2 separate regions of the Homo sapiens genome follow, and region 1 is linked to region 2. Evidence: promoter capture Hi-C in human tissues and cell types (Jung and others, 2019). All regions are on one chromosome and are shown on one strand. Each heading gives the region's core, a stretch centred on a gene start or on the middle of the fragment in contact. The rest is flanking DNA. Distances are from core to core; before and after follow the strand shown. Region 1 overlaps TMOD3 (tropomodulin 3). Region 2 holds the start of LEO1 (LEO1 component of Paf1/RNA polymerase II complex).

What was found. Contacts are between HindIII fragments. The study calls those that stand out against the background at their distance.
Region 1: a contact is called between a fragment that was not itself captured here and the fragment with the promoter of LEO1 in region 2, in 1 of the 25 tissues and cell types used here (small bowel).

Annotation. Positions count from the first base shown.
Region 1 is chr15:51,914,286-51,919,507 of GRCh38, forward strand. It overlaps TMOD3 (tropomodulin 3), which reads left to right. Exons shown (of 10, transcript NM_014547.5): 10 at 1-1,440. It overlaps LOC112268148 (a long non-coding RNA gene), which reads left to right and starts at 4,856. Exons shown (of 3, transcript XR_007064635.1): 1 at 4,856-5,222. It also overlaps the pseudogene LOC100422556. The HindIII fragment of the contact is 3,219 bases long and covers 1,064-4,282 here.
Region 2 is chr15:51,967,695-51,973,169 of GRCh38, forward strand. LEO1 (LEO1 component of Paf1/RNA polymerase II complex) reads right to left here and starts at 4,084. Exons shown (of 12, transcript NM_138792.4): 1 at 3,994-4,084. The coding sequence starts at 4,051. It also overlaps a transcript of MAPK6 not described here. RefSeq lists enhancers at 3,201-3,777, 3,601-4,130, 3,778-4,353. The HindIII fragment of the contact is 14,890 bases long and covers 1-5,475 here.

The DNA of each region.
Region 1 (5,222 bases), core at 1,423-3,922, 55 kb before region 2:
AAAACAAAACAAAACAAAAAAATGGGTTTTTTTGTTGTTGTTTTTGTCTTTTACTTAGGACACCTGCTCTAGAGGCTAGATAAAAATAGATTGTAATGGCCGGGTGCAGTGGCTCACACTTGTAATCCCAGCACTGTGGAGGCTGAGGTGGGCGGATCACTTGAGGTCAGGAGTACGAGACCAGTCTGGCCAACATGGTGAAACCCCATCTCTACTAAAAATACAAAAAATTAGTTGGGCGTGGTGATGCGCACCTGTAATTCTAGCTACTTGGGAGCCTAAGGCAGGAGAATCACTTGAACCTGGGAGGCAGAAGTTGCAGTGAGCCGAGATTGTGCCATTGCACTCCAGCCTGGGTGACAGAGTGAGACTCCATCTCAAAAAAATATATGTATTAAGAAATACCACCAGCAGTGTTTTGCTAACATAGCTGTAACAAATTATTAAGTTCTTTTTTTTTTTTAAGATGGAGGTTCACTCTTGTCGCCCAGGCTGGAGCGCAATGGTGCGATCTCAGCTCACTGCAACCTCCGCCTCCTGGGTTCAGATGATTTTCCTGCCTCAGCCTCCTGGGTAGCTGGGACTACAGGTGCCCGCCACCACGCCTGACTAATTTTTGTATTTTCAGTAGAGACGGAGTTTCACCATCTTGGCCAGGCTGGTCTCGAACTCCTGACCTCGTAATCCACCCGCCTCGGCCTCCCAAAGTGCTGGGATTACAGGTGTTTGCCACCGCGCCCAGCCCAAATTATTACATTCGTAAGACAGACACCTCTTAGAATCTATATATATGAGGTTTTACTCCCTTTTCTACACTCAGTATGTTTTAATTGATGCAAAGCAATTAATTGGCCTAAAATGTTTCAAATATTATAGTCTATACATTCAGAAAGTAAGGTTTAAGAATGAATTATTGGTGCTTCTTGGTGGGTGTATATAGCAGTTTTTAGAAGTTTAAATTTCACCTCTACTCAGAAAGATAAGCTTTTGATTCAGTGGTTTCAAATTTTCAGATCAATCCATTTAAGAATTGTTTTTTCAAATGTATATACACGTATAACATAAAAATTTTTGTAATTTCAAATGTCTTTTTTTCAGTTTTTTGGATGAATTATTATATTTGGTTTTAGTTACATTTAAAAGCTTGAAAATTACCTTTCTAACAATCATTTGAATGTCATTCATTGTCACATGAAATCAGGTATTTACGTTTTTTTCTAATGCTAAAATATCCAACATTGTAATTGCCCTATTTTTCCATTTTTATAAGTATAAAAGCAATGAATTTTAACACTGGTATTTAAATAATACAAAATATTATCCAAATTCATAACAGCACAGTGAAGTTTCTTTTGAAGACTATGTACTGGAAGCATTTAGAACTTACCAATATATACTGGGATAAATCGTTTCAATAAAGTTTATCAAATATTCTGTAAACTTGGACTTTTTGAAAAAGCACATAATCCCTTTAGTTCCTAAGTTCTAAAATTCATTCCTTACATCCTTCTTCAAGAAAAAGTTTATCAGTTTCCCTGAGTTATTCAGTCCTACCTGTTATGGACTGAATGTTTGTATCCACACCCGCCCCCCCACCCCAAATTCACATGTTGAAGCCCTAACCTCCAATGTGATGGTATTTGGAGATGGGGCCTTTGGAAGGTAATTAAGGCTAGATAGGGTCACAAGGTTGGTCCCCTTATGATGGCATTTGTGTTCTTATACAAAGAGACAGGAGACTCTCTCCATCATGTGAAGATACAGCAAAACAGCAGCTGTCTGCAAGCCAGGAAGGGAACCCTCACCAGGAACCAAACCATGATCTCGGACGTCCCAGCCTCTAGGAACGTAAGCAATAAATTTCTGTTATTTAAGCCACCCAGTCTATGGTATCTTGTTAGGACAATCTGACCTGGCTAAATACCACCATATTAAGTTGAATCATATAAAATTAGTTATAATAGTTGAACACTTTTACTCATAAAAATAGTAATTTCCTAAGGTTCAACCTAATATCATCAGTACTAGGTCCTGTCTGTTCATAAAATTGAATTGAGTTGACAAATACGCAAAGAGCAGGGTCGGACAGGTGCGGTGGCTCACGCCTGTAATCCCAGCACTTTGGGAGGCCGAGGCAGGCGGATCACCTGAGGTGAGGAGTTCAAGACCAGCCTGGCCAACATGGTGAAACTCTGTCTCTACTAAAAATACAAAAATTAGGCAGGCATGGTGGTGCATGCCTGTAGTCCCAGCTACTCAGGAGGTTGAGGCAGGAGAATAACTTGAACCCAGGAGGTGAAGGTTGCAATGAGCTGAAATCGCGCCACTGCACTCCAGCCTGGGCAATAGAGTGAGACTCTGTCTTAAAAAAAAAAAAAAAGAAAAGAAAAGAGCAGGGTCCTGTGATACAGTACACTCTGAACCTGATGGGAACCAGTCCTTCTAATAAACTAGAGATGGCTTTTACAGTAAAGCAAAGACATCTCTTATCAATCACCTATATCCATGAATCAAAAGAGAAAACCAGGTCAGGCATGATGGCTCACACCTGTAATCACAGCATTTTGGTAGGTTGAGGTGGGCAGATCACCTGAGGTCAGGAATTTGAGACTAGCCTGGCCAACATGGCAAAACCCCATCTCTAATAAAAATACAAAAATTAGCCGGGTGTGATGGCACACGCCTGTAATCCCAGGTACTCAGGAGGCTGAGGCAGGAGAATCGCTTGAACCCGGGAGGCAGAGGCTACAATGAACTGAGATCACCACTGTGCTCCAGCCTGGGCAACAGAGCAAGACTCCTTCTCAAAAAAAAAAAAAAAAAAAAAAAAAAAAGGCTGGGCTCAGAGGCTCACACCTGTAATCCCAACACTTTGGGAGGCCAAGGTGGGCGGATCACCTGAGGTCAGGAGTTCAAGACCAGCCTGGCCAACATGGCGAAACCCCGTCTCTACTAAAACTACAAAAATTAGGTGCATTGGCGGGTGTCCATAATTCCAGCTACTCAGGAGGCTGAGACAGGAGAATCGCTTGAGCCCAGGAGGCAGAGGTTGCAGTGAGCTGAGATCGCGCCACTGTACTTCCAGCCTAGGTGACAGGGTGAGACTCCGTCTCAAAAAAAAAAAAGAGAAAACCAGGGAAATGTGTAATGGGTTTGAGGAAACTTAAGGATAAAGGTTAAATAATTTAAAGTTTTCAGAGTTTTCCTGACTTAGGGGAATAAAGAAATTGACCTGGAATCTTTAATGTCGTTCTGCCTTCTGAGAATGGCTGTTGAGCTTCACATTCATGTACAGGAAGCCTCAATGCATATTCCCTTTGGTGAGTCAGGGAGATTCAGGTGCTTGAATTGTGAGCTGTTCCCCTGAGTTCAAGAGGACTTGAGTGCCAGGGACTGGCTGTGAGGCAACAGCGCCCTCACCATGTCCTCCAAAGCAGTCCAACTAAAAATGCTCAGCCTGGTGCTACCACTGCTCTTATAGGTACCAAATAGTGGGAGTGGCTTGAAAATTTGTGAGTCCAAAATTTCCAAACATTTTTTTCCTTCAACTTTAAGCTTTCCTGCATGGTCTGCAAAGGTTGAGGGCTTGTAGATCCCAACCCAGTCCCCCAGCTCCTGTGCTGTTCACAGACATACCAGATCCTCAAGGCCAGCCCCTTAGAAAGAATACCTGATGTTACAATTAAGTTGTGCTAGTACCCTTCATTGTTCTGAATGAGTCTTTCAATTCTCCTTTAGAAGCTAGTGCTAATTATGAATGTGTTTAATATACAAGCACGAAATTATGCTGTAAAAGTATAAAAGGGAAGGAAATAGAATTGTAAAGTGGGGTTTTCGGCATGGTGAAATGGGCTTTTTTTTCCCCTTTGATCATTTCTACTTAACAAAACATTTTAAAATATTTATCTAGTATTCAACTCTCAGAGGTAGAGAAATATAAACATTGAATTGAAGGATTTGTGTGGTCAAATCTAAAGCCCACCTAGTTCAAGAAACTGATGTCAGAGAAGGGACTGCCCAACATAACAGCATTTGTTTGTTCATTCAGTAAATAGTTTTTAGGTTCTATTATATTCCAGCTATTGTAGCAATCACAAAACTAGAAATCAAGTCCGGTATTTTGTTTCCCATTGCCCTTTTCCCTAAACCTAATGGTGCCTGTTTATCTCAGGTAGATATTTTGGGTATCTGTCTCCATAAGGTCACTAAAGTATTAGCCCAGCATTGTGATCACTGTGCATGGAAGATCCTAACCCTTGTCTCAGAAAAGCTTACTTGTTTACTTAAGTAAAAGCTTTGTACAGAGGGCTTAAGCTCTTTAAACCTCAGCTTCCACATCTATAAAAGGGGTATAACAGCACCTGCCCTAAGGATTAGAAGTGGTCAGGCCCACACAGCTCTGGTTAAGTACCAGGTATCCAGTGAGCTCTCCCTGCTGTACCTGCTCTTCCAAGAGCACAGTGCCATATGGGAAATGGAATTAATGCCATACTAAGGGGACTACAGAGCACAGAAAGGCCCCAAACCCAGCTAGGCAGGCCAGAGGACATCCTGGAGGAGGCCACAACTGAGCCAAACTTAACAGCAGGAATGCACTAAAACCTAAGATCCACTCACAGTAAACAGTTAACAAAATCCTCCTCTTTGGGAAAAAATGAATTTTCTAACATCGTGGACTTGCTTTTGAAAACTTTTTATTCACAACTAGGATTATGCAAAAGCAACTCAACTTCAGTTAAAACAAGTCATTTCATAATTGTTTTAAAACAAACTATTGAATACAATGAGTGCACATTTTAGGGCTTTATATCATCTTCTTCCTCTTCATGCTCTGCTTTCCTCTTTCTGGAAGGTTTACCTGAATAAATATGAGAGGTAAGACATAAAATTCAATATAAAATGTTTCTGGAAATTTTATCTAAAATGGTTCTGACCTGACAGTGACGAGCCAGCCCTTCACGTTAGAGCCCAGTTTCTCCACCCTTGGTAGCCAATGTGTGTCCCCACAGACACTGCCTAGATCAGGCAACTGAACCTAGGTTTCCCCTGGGCAGTGGTCAGGGCTGAAGGGACACTTACTTTTTTTTTTTTTTGAGACAGAGTTTTGCTCATTTCCCAGATTGGAGTGCAGTGGCGCGATCTCGGCTCACTGCAACCTCGGCTCACTGCAACCTCCATGTCCTGGGTTCGAGCAGTTCTCCTGCCTCAGCCTCCCAAATAGC
Region 2 (5,475 bases), core at 2,834-5,333:
TTTTTCATCAGAAACCAAGGAATCCCAGAGCCATCCATAAGAGGACACATTCAAAGTGCTAAAAAGAAAGACTGTCAACCAAGAATTTTATATTCAGTAAAATTATGCTTCAAAAACTAAGACGATATGGAAGACAAAAGAAAACATAAATTGGACTTCCACAAAATGAAAAACTTTTGTGCAGCAAAGGACGTTATTAAGAAAGTAGGCCCGGCGCAGTGGCTCATGCCTGTAATCCCAACACTTTGGGAAGCCAAGGTGGCTGGATCACCTGAGGTCAGGAGTTTGAGATCAGCCTGGCCAACATGGTGAAACCCCATCTCTACTAAAAATACAAAAATTAGCCAGGCATGGTGGCTTACGCCTGTGAGCCCACTACTTGGGAGGCTGAGGCAGGACAATCGCTTGAACCCAGGAGATGGAGGTTGCAGTGAGCCAAGATCATAGCACTGCACTCCAGCCTGGGCAACAGACCAAGACTCCATCTCAAATAAATAAATAAATACATAATATTGCTAAGTTAAGTTCAAAACTGGTTAATGTCTTAGAGGACAATAAAATCTTTTGGCTGGGTGCGGTGGCTCATGCCTGTAATCTCAGCACTCTAGGAGCCCAAGGTGGGAAGATCACCTGAGGTCAGGAGTTCCAGACCAGCCTGACCAACATGGTGAAACCCTGTCTACTAAAAATACAAAAATTAGCTGGGCATGGGGGCACACGCCTGTAATCCCAGCTACTGGGAATAATGAGGCATAAGAATCCCTTAAACCTAGGAAGCGGAGGTTGCAGTGAGCCGAGATCGTGCCACTGCATGAAAGGGGAGACTCTGTCTCCAAAAAAAAAAAGTAAGTGAAGGCCAGGCGCAGTGGCTCACGCCTGTAATCCCAGCACTTTGGGAGGCTGAGGTGGGTGGATCACGAGGTCAGGAGTTTGAGAACAGCCTGGCCAATATGGTGAAACCCCATCTCTACTAAAAATACAAAAATTAGCCAGGCGTGGTGGTGCATGCCTGTAGTCCCAGCTACTTGGGAGGCTGAAGCAGAATAATCACTTGAACCCAGAAGGCGGAGGTTGCTGTAAGCCGAGATTGCGCCACTGCACTCCAGCCTGGGCGACAGAGCAAGACTCCGTCTCAAAAAAAAAAAGGAAAGTGAAAAAACAACCTACAGAATGGAAGAAAATATTTGCAAACCATGTATCTGATAAGTGTCTTTATCCAAAATATACAAAGAACATTTATAACTCAACAATAAAACCAATTTCTTTGTGTTTTTTGTTCGTTTGTTTTCTTGGAGACAGAGTCTCGCTCTATCCTTCAGGCTGGAGTACAGTGGTGCAATCTTGGCTCACTGCAACCTCTGCCTCCCTCAAGCGATTCTCCTACCTCAGCCTCCCAAGTTTATGGGCGCACGCCACCACACCTGGCTAATTTTTTTGTATTTTTAGTAGAGATAGGGTTTCACCATGTTGGCCAGGCTGGTCTCGAACTCCTGACCTCAGGTGATCCACCCACCTCAGCCCCCTAAAGTGCTGGGATTACAGGCGTGAGCCACTGTGCCTGGCCTAAAACCAATTTTTTTAAAACAGAGGACTTGAATAGACATTTCTCCAAACAAAGTTACACAAATGGCCAATAAATACATGAAAAGATGTTCAACGGCTGGGCGCAGTGGCTCACACCTGTAATCCCAGCACTGTGAGAGGCCGAGGCAGGCAGATCACCTGAGGTCAGGAGTTTGAGACCAGCCTGGCCAAAATGGCAAAACCTCATGTCTACTAAAAATACAAAAATTAGCAGGGTGTGGTGGCAGGCGCCTGTAATCCCAGCTATTCGGGAGGATAAGGGAGGAGAATCACTTGAACCCAGGAGGCAAAGGCAGGAGAATCGCTTGAACCTAGCACTTTGAGAGGCCGAGGCAGGTGGATCACCTGAGGTCAGGAGTTTGGAACCAGCCTGGCCAACATGACAAAACCTCATCTCTACTTAAAATACAAAAATTAGTAGGGTATGGTGGCAGGTGCCTGTAATCACAGCTACTCGGGAGGTTAAGGCAGGAGAATTGCTTGAACCCGGAGGCGGAGGTTGCAGTGAGCCAAGATTGTACCACTGCACTGCAGCCTGGGAGACAGACTGAGACTCCGTTAAAAAAAAAAAAAAAAAAAAAAAAGATGTTCAGCATCATTAGCCTTTGGGAAAGTGTAAACTGAAACCACAATGAGACACCACTTGATAACATCAAGGATGGCTACTTTAGAAACAAATAAAAACTTAAAATAACTGTTGGCAAAGATGTGGGGAAAGGGAACCCTGGTGCATTGCTGGTGGTAATGTAAAATGGCTCAACCACTATGGAAAACAGTTTGGCTGCTCCTCAAAATATTAAAGAATTACCATATGACTCTGCACTCCTACATAATACCCTCCTCCCAAAATTAAAAACAGGCACCCAAACATGTACATGAATTTATTTATTTTTTTGGAGACAGAGTCTCACTTTATCACCCAGGTTGAAGTGAAGTGATGCAATCTCAGCTCACTGCCAACCTCTGTCTCCTGGGTTCAAGTGATTCTCATGCCTCAGCCTTCTGAGTACCTGGGACTACAGGCACGCACGACCACACCTGGCTAACAGTTTGTATTTTTAGTAGAGACAGGGTTTCACCATGTTGCCCAGGCTGGTCTTCAACTCCTGAGCTCAGGCAAATCCGCCTGCCGGAACCAGGAATGTTTACAGTAGCACTATTCAAACAACCCAATGTCCATCAACAGATAAATGGATTAACAAATTTAGGGTGTGCACATTCAATGGAATATTATTAAATCATTAAAAATGAATAAAGTACTGATATGTGCTACAATGCCTTGAAGACATTATGCTAAGTAAAAGAAACCAGACACAAAAGACCACAATGCATGATTCAATTTATATGAAATTCCCAGAACAGATAAGTACAGAAACAATAGCAGACAGGGGTTGGAGGAAGGAGCATATGAGGAGTAAGTGCTTTATGAACAGTGTTTTATTTGGGGGTGATGAAAATAACAACTAGATATATGTTGTCTACAAGAGACTCACTTTACTTGGAGCCTAGAGGGTTGCAAGAATTCTGAACTTGGTCTTGGGTTCTCACTTCAAATAGCTCCTATTCATATTTCAAGTGCCCGTAGTCTCAACTACTTGGAGGCTGAGGCAGAAGGATGGCTTGAGCCCAGAAGTTCAAGGCCAACCTGAGCAACACAGTGAGACCCTGTCTCTAAAAAAGTAAACTTTAAAAAAACACCCACAATCCTGTGCCAGAAATAACTTCCAAGCAGCATGCACATACACTAATTCATTCATTTCATCAACAAATCCTTCATTCCTCCTCTCTGTACACAGACCCCATGCACTCCCCAATCTAACATCACAGACTCCGGAAATTCTGGAGTTTCTGCACAAGCTCTTAGAGAACACATTCTCTCCTATGTGAAACATCTATCTGTAACCCCATCCCATTATCCGTCCCAGACTCGTCATCCAGACATCTCAAGCTCCCTATCACACCATGCTCTGGTTTCATTCAAGACGGCATTCTGAGGCCCTCTGTAAATTCGCCCACCCCATCCCATATTCCTGCATTCATTTCCATTCATTCAAAAACAGCCCTTACTCTACGCTGGCCTGTGCAAGGCAAGGCGGAACAGGACTCCAACGTTCCTACCCGCGCTGCGCAGGCTCGCCTGCACTTCCACCCATGCCCCGCGCCCCTTTCGCTCCACAAGCTCCCAGGAACCGTCTGCTCCACCGACACCCAGAGCCTCGAGGCGCAGACTGTCTGACTCTCCATCCTGCCCGCCGGAGGAGGATGGCACCTCCGGGAGTGCAGGGGGCGCTGAGGCAGGAGTGGAGGAAACGCCACCTCTTGCCCGCGGCGCTGGAGCCTCCACGGTTGTCCGGCTCCCACAGCGGAAGGCCTGCCACGCACCCATCCTCCGAAGACCAGCGAACCCACCTTTACGCTCAGCTTCGCTGTCGGCGTCGCTCCCGAAGAGATCCTCCATATCCGCCATTATCGCTCACGTCCGCTGCTGCCTCGGTTAGGGGCAGCTCCCGGCCTCTCTTTACGGCACGGAACCACTGAAACACGACAGTGTCGCAAAGATTCGCCGAAGACACTCCTTTCCTTACGTGACCTAGTTTTCGCTCGCCCAGTGAACCTGTTCTCGCCTGGGTATGCATGGTATATAAGCCCGGCCATTTCGTCAATATCTGTTATTTGCCAGGATTCTTACCAGGGGGCGGGGGGGTCCTGCGTTCGGTTGCGGGTGTGGATGGGGTGGGCGGTGACTGGCGCTCTCTGGGGAAGGGCCTCTGGCTGGATTAAACCTATCGCGAGTCAGGATTGAAGCCCTTTGTTTCTTACTGAGCAGCTGTTCTCCAGTTATTTCATCCCAAACCCCTTTACCCTCTTAAAAATTGTTGAGACGGAGTCTCGCTCAGTCGCCCAGGCTGGAGTGCAGTGGCGCGATCTCGGCTCACAGCAACCTCCACTGTCCGGGTTCAAGCAATTCTAATTCCTCAGCCTCCCGAGTAGCTGGGACGACAGGCGCCCGCCACCACACCCGGCTAATTTTTTGTATTTTAGTAGACACGGGGTTTCACCGTGTTGCCCAGGCTGGTCGCAAACTCAGGAGCTCAGGCAATCCGCCCGCCTCGGCCTCCCAAAGTGCTGGGATTACAGGTACGGGTATTGATATTTACTGTATTCTTACTAATACGGTAATAAATTTTTAAGTTACTAATTCATTTAAAAATAATATACATGTTAACAAACAGCTTTTTTAAGCTTTAAATGACCATTTTTTTGGCCGGGCGCGGTCGCTCACGCCTGTAATCCCAGCACTTTGGGAGGCCGAGGCGGGTGGATCACGAGGTCAGGAGATCGAGACCATCCTGGCTAACACGGTGAAACCCCGTCTCTACTAAAATAAAAAAAATTAGCCGGGCGTGGTTGTGGGCGCCTGTCGTCCCAGCTACTAGGGAGGATGAGGCAGGAGAATGGCGTGAACCCAGGAGGCGGAGCTTGCAGTGAGCCGAGATCGCGCCACTGCACTCCAGCCTGGGCACGAGACTCCATCTCAAAAAAATAATAATAATAAAATAAAATAATTAAAAATAAAAACATTAGCCAGGCATGATGGCATGCATTTGTAGCCCTAGCTACTCAGGAAACTGAGAATGGAGGATCACTTGAGCCCAGGAGTTGGAGGCTGCAGTGAGCTATGATCACGCCACTTCACTCTAGCCTGAGTGACAGAGTAAGGCTCTGTTTCTTAGAAGAAAAAGTGAGAAAAGAGTACATCCTGTGTTACATTACCTAATTAGGCCATTATGAGAGTTTTGGTCTTGGACAAGCAACAATGAATATTTAGTTTGGAGATTATATGATATATATTTTTGTAGTAAACTTCAGTGCTTAACAGGGTCCAAATGG